Regions from separate parts of the Homo sapiens genome. Here region 1 is linked to region 2. The links are contacts of gene promoters, found by promoter capture Hi-C in blood cells and fetal thymus (Javierre and others, 2016). All regions are on one chromosome and are shown on one strand. Each heading gives the region's core, a stretch centred on a gene start or on the middle of the fragment in contact. The rest is flanking DNA. Distances are from core to core; before and after follow the strand shown. Region 1 overlaps RARG (retinoic acid receptor gamma). Region 2 holds the start of SLC61A1 (solute carrier family 61 member 1).

What was found. Contacts are between HindIII fragments. The CHiCAGO score rates a contact against its expected background, and 5 or more counts as called.
Region 1: a fragment that was not itself captured here is called in contact with the fragment with the promoter of SLC61A1 in region 2 in 7 of 17 cell types (activated CD4 T cells, naive CD8 T cells, total CD8 T cells and 4 more); the score reaches 7.3 in activated CD4 T cells.

The regions. Positions count from the first base shown.
Region 1 is chr12:53,211,465-53,216,436 of GRCh38, forward strand. It overlaps RARG (retinoic acid receptor gamma), which reads right to left. Exons shown (of 10, transcript NM_000966.6): 4 at 4,182-4,330; 5 at 3,829-3,970; 6 at 2,982-3,142; 7 at 2,595-2,771; 8 at 2,032-2,236; 9 at 1,621-1,779; 10 at 1-399. The coding sequence ends at 212. Among named protein-coding and RNA genes, the nearest start is that of ITGB7, 6.7 kb to the left of the region's middle. RefSeq lists enhancers at 3,815-4,588, 4,803-4,972. The HindIII fragment of the contact is 8,479 bases long and covers 1-4,972 here.
Region 2 is chr12:53,249,003-53,253,585 of GRCh38, forward strand. SLC61A1 (solute carrier family 61 member 1) reads left to right here and starts at 3,093. Exons shown (of 2, transcript NM_032889.5): 1 at 3,093-3,266; 2 at 3,816-4,583. The coding sequence starts at 3,834. RefSeq lists enhancers at 2,756-2,805, 2,939-3,610 and silencers at 3,076-3,355, 3,366-3,415. The HindIII fragment of the contact is 5,764 bases long and covers 369-4,583 here.

The sequences.
Region 1 (4,972 bases), core at 2,015-4,514, 37 kb before region 2:
GCAGGCCCCCGGGACTGGCGAGGGAGCCGGTTAGATCAGGAAGGGGATGAACACAGAGGCACCCCTAGAAACTTTGGCAAAAACAAGGAGCTCATTGGAAGGGGTGGGGAGAGGGCAGAGCAGGTCCTCCCCCAGTCACTGGCGGTCTGGGAGATGGTCAGTCTGCTGCCTGAAGCCCCAACCCCCACAGCGGGGAGGTCAGGGGCCCTGGTCAGGCTGGGGACTTCAGGCCCCCTTTGCCCTGGCCCCCAGGAACCTCATCCTCGCTAGAGGCATTGGGGTGGGGACCAGGCTGCGAGGAGTCATCCTCAAACATTTCAGGGTTCTCCAGCATCTCTCGGATTAAGGGAGGCATCGGGCCTGGAATCTCCATCTTCAGAGTAATGGCCCTTTCAGCTCCTACAATGGAGAGAGAAAGAGAGAGGCTCAGGAGGACAGAGGCACATGGCCCTTAAGGCCATCTCCCTAACCTTTCTCAACTGCCCCTGACTCCCCTAGGGGGCGCCCAGCACAGGCCCACCACCTCTCCGTCCCCAGCTCATCCTCTTCTCACTAGGCTTCCTGGGTGCCACTCCTCTGCCTGGAACCTCTACCTGGCCTTCTCTACCAGGCTTGCTGCCCATTCATCCCATTCTTTCAGGCTGTCTCTTCAGCGAGCGCAATGCACACAACTTCCAACCCCACTCCCCAAGTACCCCACTCTCGAATGTCCAGAGCTTGTCACTTGTTCCTAGTCCTGTTCTCTTAATAACATTTATTACCACAGCTAATATTTATCAAACACTATGTTCCAGACATCCTTCTAAGCCTGGACTGTCCAATAGAACTTTGCAATGATAGGAATACAGTAGTCATTGGCCACATGTGGCAATCTGAAATGTGACTACTGCAACTGCAGAATGGAATTTTTAATTCAGCACAATTCTAAGTACACTGTATATGTTACAGGTTTTTTTTGTTGTGTTGTTGTTGTTGTTGTTGTTTTAGAGGCAGGGTCTTGCTGGGTTACCCAGGCTGGACTGCAGTGGCTATTCACAGGTACAATCATAGCTCACTGCAGCTTCCAACTTCTGGCCTCAACTGATCTTTCTGCCTCAGCCTCCTGAGTAGCTGGAACTACAGATGTGCACCATGGTGCCTGGCTTTACATTGTATATTAACTAATTTAGTCCTCAAGACAGCGTTACAAGGTACGTGAAGAATAGCCCAGTTTACAAACAAGATTAAAAAAGTAAAGCAATTTGCCCAAGACTTTGTCTCTAAATATATATATACACACACACACACACACACACACACACACACACACACACACATACTTGGAATTGTGCTGAATTAAAAATTCAATTCTGCAGTTGCAGTAGTCACATTTCAGATGCTTAATAGCCACATGTGGCTAATGACTATTGTATTCCCATCATTGCAGAAAGTTCTACTGGACAGTACTGGTTTAGAAGCAATTTGCCCAAAGTCTCCCACTACTATGTGGCAGAGCTAGGATTCCAGTGTAGATTGCCTGGTTCTCAACTACTCTGTTCTTGTCTCTGTGTGTCCTCCTGTCCGACCTGGGAGACCAACAGCCCTGGGAAGACAGAGAGGGGACACCCACTCATGACTCACCCTTAGTGCTGATGCCCCGGAGGTCGGTGATTTTCATTAGCATCCTTGGGAACATGTAGGGCTGGCTGGGCCGCCGGCGCCGGGCGTACAGCCTCAGGGCTTCCAGCAGTGGCTCCTGCAGCTTGTCCACTTTTTCGGGCTCCTCCAGGTCCATGCGGTCTATGGGGACAAGTATACTGGAGTGAGAGGGGAAGGAAGAGATGGGGAAGACACAGTGACAGATGGCTGATCACCAACCGGCGTTTTGGGAAGCCTGTACAGGGTTTCAGAACTCTCTGGATGGGGCCAGGTGCAAGAATTACCAGCAGAAGAGACCACTGGGTCCTCCACGCCCCCTCCCAGACAGATTCCGCATGGAGTGGTGGGAAAGGAGACTGAGCACTGAGCAGACGCCAGGGGGCGCCCCCGCACCTCCGCAGATGAGGCAGATGGCGCTGAGCAGCCCTGTCTCGGTGTCATCCATCTCCAGGGGCAGGAGCTGCCCAGCAAAGGCAAAGACAAGGTCTGTGAGGGGCCCGAAGCCGGCATTGTGCATCTGGGTCCGGTTCAGGGTCAGCCCGTCGGAGAAGGTCATGGTGTCCTGCTCTGGGGTGTACCTTGTGCAGATACGCAGCATCTGGAGGTGGGGGGTGGAGGAGGGTTAGTGCTGTTTCTGGGGGATGGGGAAAAGAGGGAATGAGTGGAAAGTGAGGAGGTTAGGTCCCCAGTGAGTGCAACCTGAAGCAGGCATGGAGAAGGCAGAGGTGGAGGATCTGAGGCTTGGCAGGGGTAGTCCCGGGAAGTCAGGAGGAGACAGGGCATCCAAAAGTCTAGGATCAGGTCATAGGGGCAGAGGCTAAGACGAAAAGAGAGCTGAGGAGTCCCACATGTGTGGCAGGGGGTGCAGGGTAAGGAAATCTTTGCATGGATCAAGGAATTGTTGAGGGTCCCATATGTGGGTCGGGCTGTGGCAGGACCCACAGGGCCTAACTTACCAGGATATCTAGGCAGGCAGCTTTGAGCAGAGTGATCTGGTCAGCAATGCTGAGCCCTGTAAAGCCAGGCAACCGCTTGGCAAACTCCACGATCTTGATGATGCACTTGGTAGCCAGCTCACTGAACTTGTCCCACAGCCCCAGATCCAGCTGCACGCGGTGGTCTGCACTGGAGTTCTGCAGAGGGGAGGGGTAGAAGGTTGGAAGGCAAGCTAAGGCCCACCTCTGGGGGCTGTCTTCTCTCTACCAATATCCCAAGCTCTCTCCTCTGCATTCTGATGCCCTCCTTGTCCTCAGCACCAGTCGATGATAGCCTCCAACACAACCCAGCCCCATTCCCCAAAGTGAAGAGTGCCCTGCCCTCACTGGGCTCTGCCCATTCCTCACCGTGGTATACTTGCCCAGCTGGCAGAGCGAGGGGAAAGTCTCCTGATGGGCTTTGCTGACCTTGGTGATGAGCTCTTCTAACTGAGGGCTCAGCTCATAGCTGTCAGGTGACCCTTCTTCCTTCACCTCTTTCTTCTTCTTGTTCCGGTCATTTCGCACAGCTTGTGGGTGGAGGCGCAAGGAGAGGGTCAGGACCCTCAGAGCCTCCCTTTGGGTGTCCTCTCTCACCCTAATTTAATATGCTCAGTCCTTATCATGAATATCTATTCTCTGGCACTGTAATTACTGCCTCAGTTTCCCTATCACCTATAATAGCTCCTATTCCCAGGCTGGTTCTCCCCAGCCCCACCCAGGGCCTGCAGCCCCTGCTCCTTCCCCAGGCCATTCGGCTCCATCCTGTCCTTCCTGTCACCCTGCAGGAGCTGGGGGAGGGGGGGCAGGATATGCAGGCGGCAGGATATCCACTTATAGCCTTGGCAGCACAATGGGGGCGAGGGGGGGGTGGAGAGGAGGAGCCACCCCATATCCATCTCTGGCTCAGTCCAGGGGAGGGAAAGGGACTGGCAAGCCCACTGGCTTCATTTCCCCCATGAAACAGGGGGAATGTGAGACCCTACTTATTCACCCATTCAGAGGAAGAGTCAAGCTCCCTGAGAGGGAGAATGGGAAATGGTGGGGCCTCCTGGTTGAATGGAGCTAATCAAATAAGACTGGCCTGGGAGAAGGCAGCACCCCAGGGCAGGCCAAGTCTCAGAGGTCAGGGAAGTGGGAGTGGCCAGAGGAAAGAGGGCCACAGCCATAGGGTAGGACCGAAGTGCTCCTGCCCAAGCCAAGGATGGCAGCCTACCTTCCTTGGACATGCCCACTTCGAAGCACTTCTGTAGCCGGCAGTACTGGCAGCGATTCCTGGTCACCTTGTTGATGATACAGTTTTTGTCGCGGTGACACGTGTACACCATGTTCTTCTGGATGCTTCGGCGAAAGAAGCCCTGGAGTTGAGGGAAAGAGAGAGGGCCTCTGAAGCACAATGCTGGGAGTACCAGCCTCTCACTGGCCTTGCAGGTTGCCCCAAGCCTGACCTAATCTATTAACCACCTATGTGCAAAGCAGTGCTGCTCAGACACAGCATCTGTGTGCCTGGTCTCTCATCTTACTAGGGTAACTGGATCCCCCGTCTGCCCACTCCCACCACGTACACACCTTGCAGCCTTCACAAGAGCTGACCCCATAGTGGTAGCCAGAGGACTTGTCATTGCACACGAAGCATGGCTTGTAGACCCGAGGAGGCGGAGGGGGCGAGGGCGAGCTGGGCACCATCTCCTCTGAGCTGGTGCTCTGTGTCTCCACCGCTGGGAGGGAAGCAGTGATGTGAGGGTCAGGGGAGAAGGACCCCACAGACCTCCAGGCTTCCTCATCACACACACCCCATGTGCATTTGTTCCTTGGCCCACTGGTGACAGCCATCACTACCACAGTGCACTAGTTCCAGCAGTAAGCACTGTCAGAATCCTCTTAATGACCACTATTACCACAGCTTGTTGTGACCCTAGTTCACCCTCTACCCTCCACAGTCTAACCAACTTGTTCACAAGAATGCCAGCCCTCATCCTATATGACATGTTTAATCCTCCAAATTCCAGACCAAGGCCATTCCGGAAATTGACTTCTCTGGGCCTGTTTCCCTAACTATCCAGGAGGTGGGTAGAAGAGTTAAAGCCCTGCAGCTCTGAGCTCTCTAGTCACTCTCTGTCTCTTTGGTATATCTTTGTCAGGTAGTCTACTTCCCACTGTCCTCCCTGTGGGGCAATAACTCTGGGGGCAGGTAGGCAATGACAGGCTTCCTGTAGCTGCTACTGGCCAAATGACCTGCTGGGATGCTTAGCAGGTAAACCAGGACCTCATTTCCTTTCCAGTAGTACAGGGGGGATAACTCCTCAGGCTTATCTCTCTCACACTACCCCTGAATAACCATCAGAGACAGTGGAGCAAAT
Region 2 (4,583 bases), core at 1,843-4,342:
GTGGAACCCTTAAGGCCAGAAGTTCAAGACTTTTTTGGGACAGGGTCTCACTCTGTCCCCCAGGCTGGAGTGCAGTGGCATGATCTCGGCTCACTGCAACCTCTGCCTCCTGAGTTCAAGAGATTCTCCTGCCTCAGCCTCCCAAGTAGCTGGGATTACAGGTGTGTGCCACTATCGCCCAGCTTTTTGTATTTTTAGTAGTGATGGGGTTTCACCATGTTGGCCAGGCTGGTCTGGAACTCCTGACTTCAAATAATCCACCCACATTGGCCTCCCAAAGTGCTCGGATTACAGGCGTAAGCCACCATGCCTGGCCAAAAGAAAGTATTTCTCCAGATGTAATCCCAAACCCTCCTACCCTACCTCTAAGCTTTAGTATAAAAAAAAAAAAAAACCAACAGGCCGGGCGCGGATCCCCTAAGGTTGGGAGTTCGAGACCAGCCTGACCAACGTGGAGAAACCCTGTCTCTAAAAAATACAAAATTAGCTGGGGGTGGTGGCGCATGCCTGTAATCCCAGCTACTTGGGAGGCTGAGACAGGAGAATCGCTTGAACCCGGGAGCCGGAGGTTGCAGTGAGCTGAGATCACGCCATTGCACTCCAGCCTGGGCAACAAGAGTGAAACTCCGTCTCAAATAAAAAAAAAAAAAGACTGATCTGCTGCGCAAGTAGGTGAACTAGTATAATTGCAGAAACTATGTGAGCTTGGAACTGGAAAGATTGGGTCCTGCTTCTAACTGCCTTTTACTATGTAACTCTAAACATGTTACCTAACCTTTCCAACTCTGGTTAGTACCTACTGTATGGATTGTTGTCAGTCAGATGAGATAATTCACCTACAGCAGTTGGACTAAACCTTCTTAAAACTCCTTAGGTACATAATAACTGATAAGTGTTATTATGTTAATATGGGCCAGTACTTTTGATAGTAATTTACATAACTTATTCATTTATTCATAGACTATTTATGGAATATTTATGATTAATACTTATCAATGACTGCTTTAAGTATAGGGAATACAGGTGAACAAAACAGATAAAAATCTGTAGGGAAAGAGATAGTAAATATTTACTTATTTACTTAGAGACGAAGTCTTGCTCTGTCCCCTAGGCTGGAGTGCAGTGGTGTAATCTTGGCTCACTGCAGCCTCCGCTTCCCAGGTTCAAGCAATTCTCGTACCTCAGCCTCCTGAGTAGGTGGGATTACAAGCGCGCACCACCAGGCCCAGCTAATTTTTTTGTTTATTTGTTTTGAGACGGAGTCTTGCTCTGTTGCCCAGGCTGGAGTGCAGTGGTGCAATCTCGGCTTACCGCAACCTCTGCCTCCCAGGTTGAAGCAATTCTCCTGCCTCAGCCTCCAAAGTAGCTGGGATTACAGGTGCACACCACCATGCCCAGCAAATTTTTTTGTAATTTTAGTAGAGACGGGGTTTCGCCATATTGGCCAGGCTAGTCTTGAACTCCTGACCTCATGATACGCCCGCCTCGGCCTCCCAAAGTGCTGGGATTACAGGTGTGAGCCACCGCGCCCAGCAATTTTTTGTATTATTAGTAGGCATGGGGTTTCGACATGTTGGCCAGACTGGTCTTAAATTCCTGGCCTCAAGTGATTCACCCACCTTGGCCTCTCAAAGTGTTGAGATTACAGGTGTGAGCCACCACACCTGGCCAAGATAGTAAATAAATAAACAAGGAAAATACATAGTGTACTGCAGAGTAAAAGCAGCAGAGAGAATAGAAAATTGGAAGGAAAGTAGGTAGATTACTGTGCTGGAGGTGGTGGTGTTGCTATTTTAAACAGGAGGGCCATGGAAGGCCCCTCTGATCAGGTGACATTTTTTAAAATTTTATTTTATTTTTTATTTTTTTGTGAGACAGAGTCTCGCTCTGTCACCCAGACTGGAGTGCAGTGGCGTGATCTTGGCTCACTGCAACCTCTGCCTCCCTGGTTCAAGCGATTCTCCTGCCTCAGCCTCCCGAGTAGGTGGGATTACAGGTGCCCACCACCATGCCTGGCTAATTTTTATATTTTTTTACTAGCGACGGGGTTTCACCATGTTGGCCAGGCTGATCTTGAACTCCTGACCTCAACTGATCGGCCTGCCTCAGCCTCCTAAACTGCTGGGATTACAGGAATGAGCCACCAGGCCCAGCCAAGATCAGGTGACATTTGAACAGAGAACTGGAGGAGGTGGGGGGGGGAACCACGTGGATATCTTGGAGAAGAACTGTACAGGGAACAGTGTGCAAAAGCCCTGGTGGTAGCCAACATAGATGGGAGGGAGAGGAGCAGGGGATGAAGTCAGAGGAGTGGCAGAGGGTCAGAGGACAGAGGGTCTTGTAGGCCATTATAAATACTTCGGCTTTTACCCTTAGTGAGATGGGAAGTCATTGGAGGCTCTTGAGGAGATGATACGGAAGCTGTAGAGAGGTTAAATAGTTTTTCCAAGGTAAAACAGCTTGTAAGTGGCAGAAGGTAGGGAATTAAGCTCCAAGGCTGAAGTTCTTAACCCCATGCTGCCACTGAACTTTAGCCTTCTTTATTTGGGCATTGCTATCCTGTGACTTCAAAGAAACTGGGACACTGGGAAGTTATGCGGCTTGCCCAAGGCCACACAGCTGGTAAGTGACAGGGGCAGGACTGCGCCTTAGTCTGTCTGCAGCCCGACTCCAAGTTCTTTACACCACACCGCCTCCCTCAGGTGTCTGGACCATACTGGCTTCTCTTGCATGGAGGTCACTGCAGTGGGAGAGGAGGCAAACCAAGGAGACCTTCTCGGCTTCGGGCAGCGGTGCTGTTCCTTAGGAAGCTCCAACCCTTGGCTCTACCGGACTGCGGGCATCTTTCCCGAGCACTGCACGGAAGAAAAGAAAATTGGCACTTATTTCAGGGTGGCCCCTCAGGCATCCAAGAGCCAGAGGAGCAGGTGTCACGGGATGGCAGCGAGCGAGGCCAGGCCAGGAGAAGCAACCGCAGCCTCCTATGGTCGCCCCTTCCCGACCCACCCCAGGCGTCAGGAGTTCCGCGCCCGGGTAAGGGAAGGAGGGCGGGCGGGCGGGGCGGGGCGGGGTTTTGGCGCCGCGCCCCCGTCACGTGATGAAGCCATCATGGCGGCGGCCAGAGGCCTGCCCGGCTCCCGGAAGCAGGCTGTGAGGGGCGGGAGCGCTGCTGGAACCCGAGCCGGAGCCGGAGCCACAGCGGGGAGGGTGGCCTGGCGGCCTGGAGCCGGACGTGTCCGGGGCGTCCCCGCAGACCGGGGCAGCAGGTGAGGCGGAGTCTGGGCGAGGTGCAAGTGGATGTGGCAGGGCTGGGCAGGGGCTAGGGGGCGCAGTGGGGTGCCAGTGACCTGGAGGAGTGGGCCTCTGAGATGCACACGCATGACCCTGAAGCAACTCGAGAGGCCTGCGCGGGTGGGAGGGATGCCCGGGACAGAGGATGAGACACTGAGGGCAAAAAGAGGCTCCGCAGCGAGGACGGGAGGTAATAGAAGGAAGTGTACGGGAGCTGCTGTGGGAAAGGGCAGTAGAATTTGCGGGAGCGGGATTATTGAAAGGGACTCCCTCTTCACAGGCAAGGATGGGTTGAGTGCCCAGTCCTCTCCCCTGTCTTCTTACCCCTCCCTGCCCCACAGTGTCCTAGGAGACAGCTTTGGCGTGGCCACTCCTCCCACCCACCCAACTGGTCCCTCCGGTCTGAGATCTTGGGGAGTGGAGTTGGCAGCGGGGTTGGGTGGAGCTGCCATCTGCTTAAGACAGCCCCTTGACCGTGCTGCCCGAAGGATGGATATGGCTCTGACTCCCACCTCTCTTCCCAGGTCGTCCGGGGGCCCACCATGCTGGTGACTGCCTACCTTGCTTTTGTAGGCCTCCTGGCCTCCTGCCTGGGGCTGGAACTGTCAAGATGCCGGGCTAAACCCCCTGGAAGGGCCTGCAGCAATCCCTCCTTCCTTCGGTTTCAACTGGACTTCTATCAGGTCTACTTCCTGGCCCTGGCAGCTGATTGGCTTCAGGCCCCCTACCTCTATAAACTCTACCAGCATTACTACTTCCTGGAAGGTCAAATTGCCATCCTCTATGTCTGTGGCCTTGCCTCTACAGTCCTCTTTGGCCTAGTGGCCTCCTCCCTTGTGGATTGGCTGGGTCGCAAGAATTCTTGTGTCCTCTTCTCCCTGACTTACTCACTATGCTGCTTAACCAAACTCTCTCAAGACTACTTTGTGCTGCTAGTGGGGCGAGCACTTGGTGGGCTGTCCACAGCCCTGCTCTTCTCAGCCTTCGAGGCCTGGTATATCCATGAGCACGTGGAACGGCATGACTTCCCTGCTGAGTGGATCCCAGCTACCTTTGCTCGAGCTGCCTTCTGGAACCATGTGCTGGCTGTAGTGGCAGGTGTGGCAGCTGAGGCTGTAGCCAGCTGGATAGGGCTGGGGCCTGTAGCGCCCTTTGTGGCTGCCATCCCTCTCCTGGCTCTGGCAGGGGCCTTGGCCCTTCGAAACTGGGGGGAGAACTATGACCGGCAGCGTGCCTTCTCAAGGACCTGTGCTGGAGGCCTGCGCTGCCTCCTGTCGGACCGCCGCGTGCTG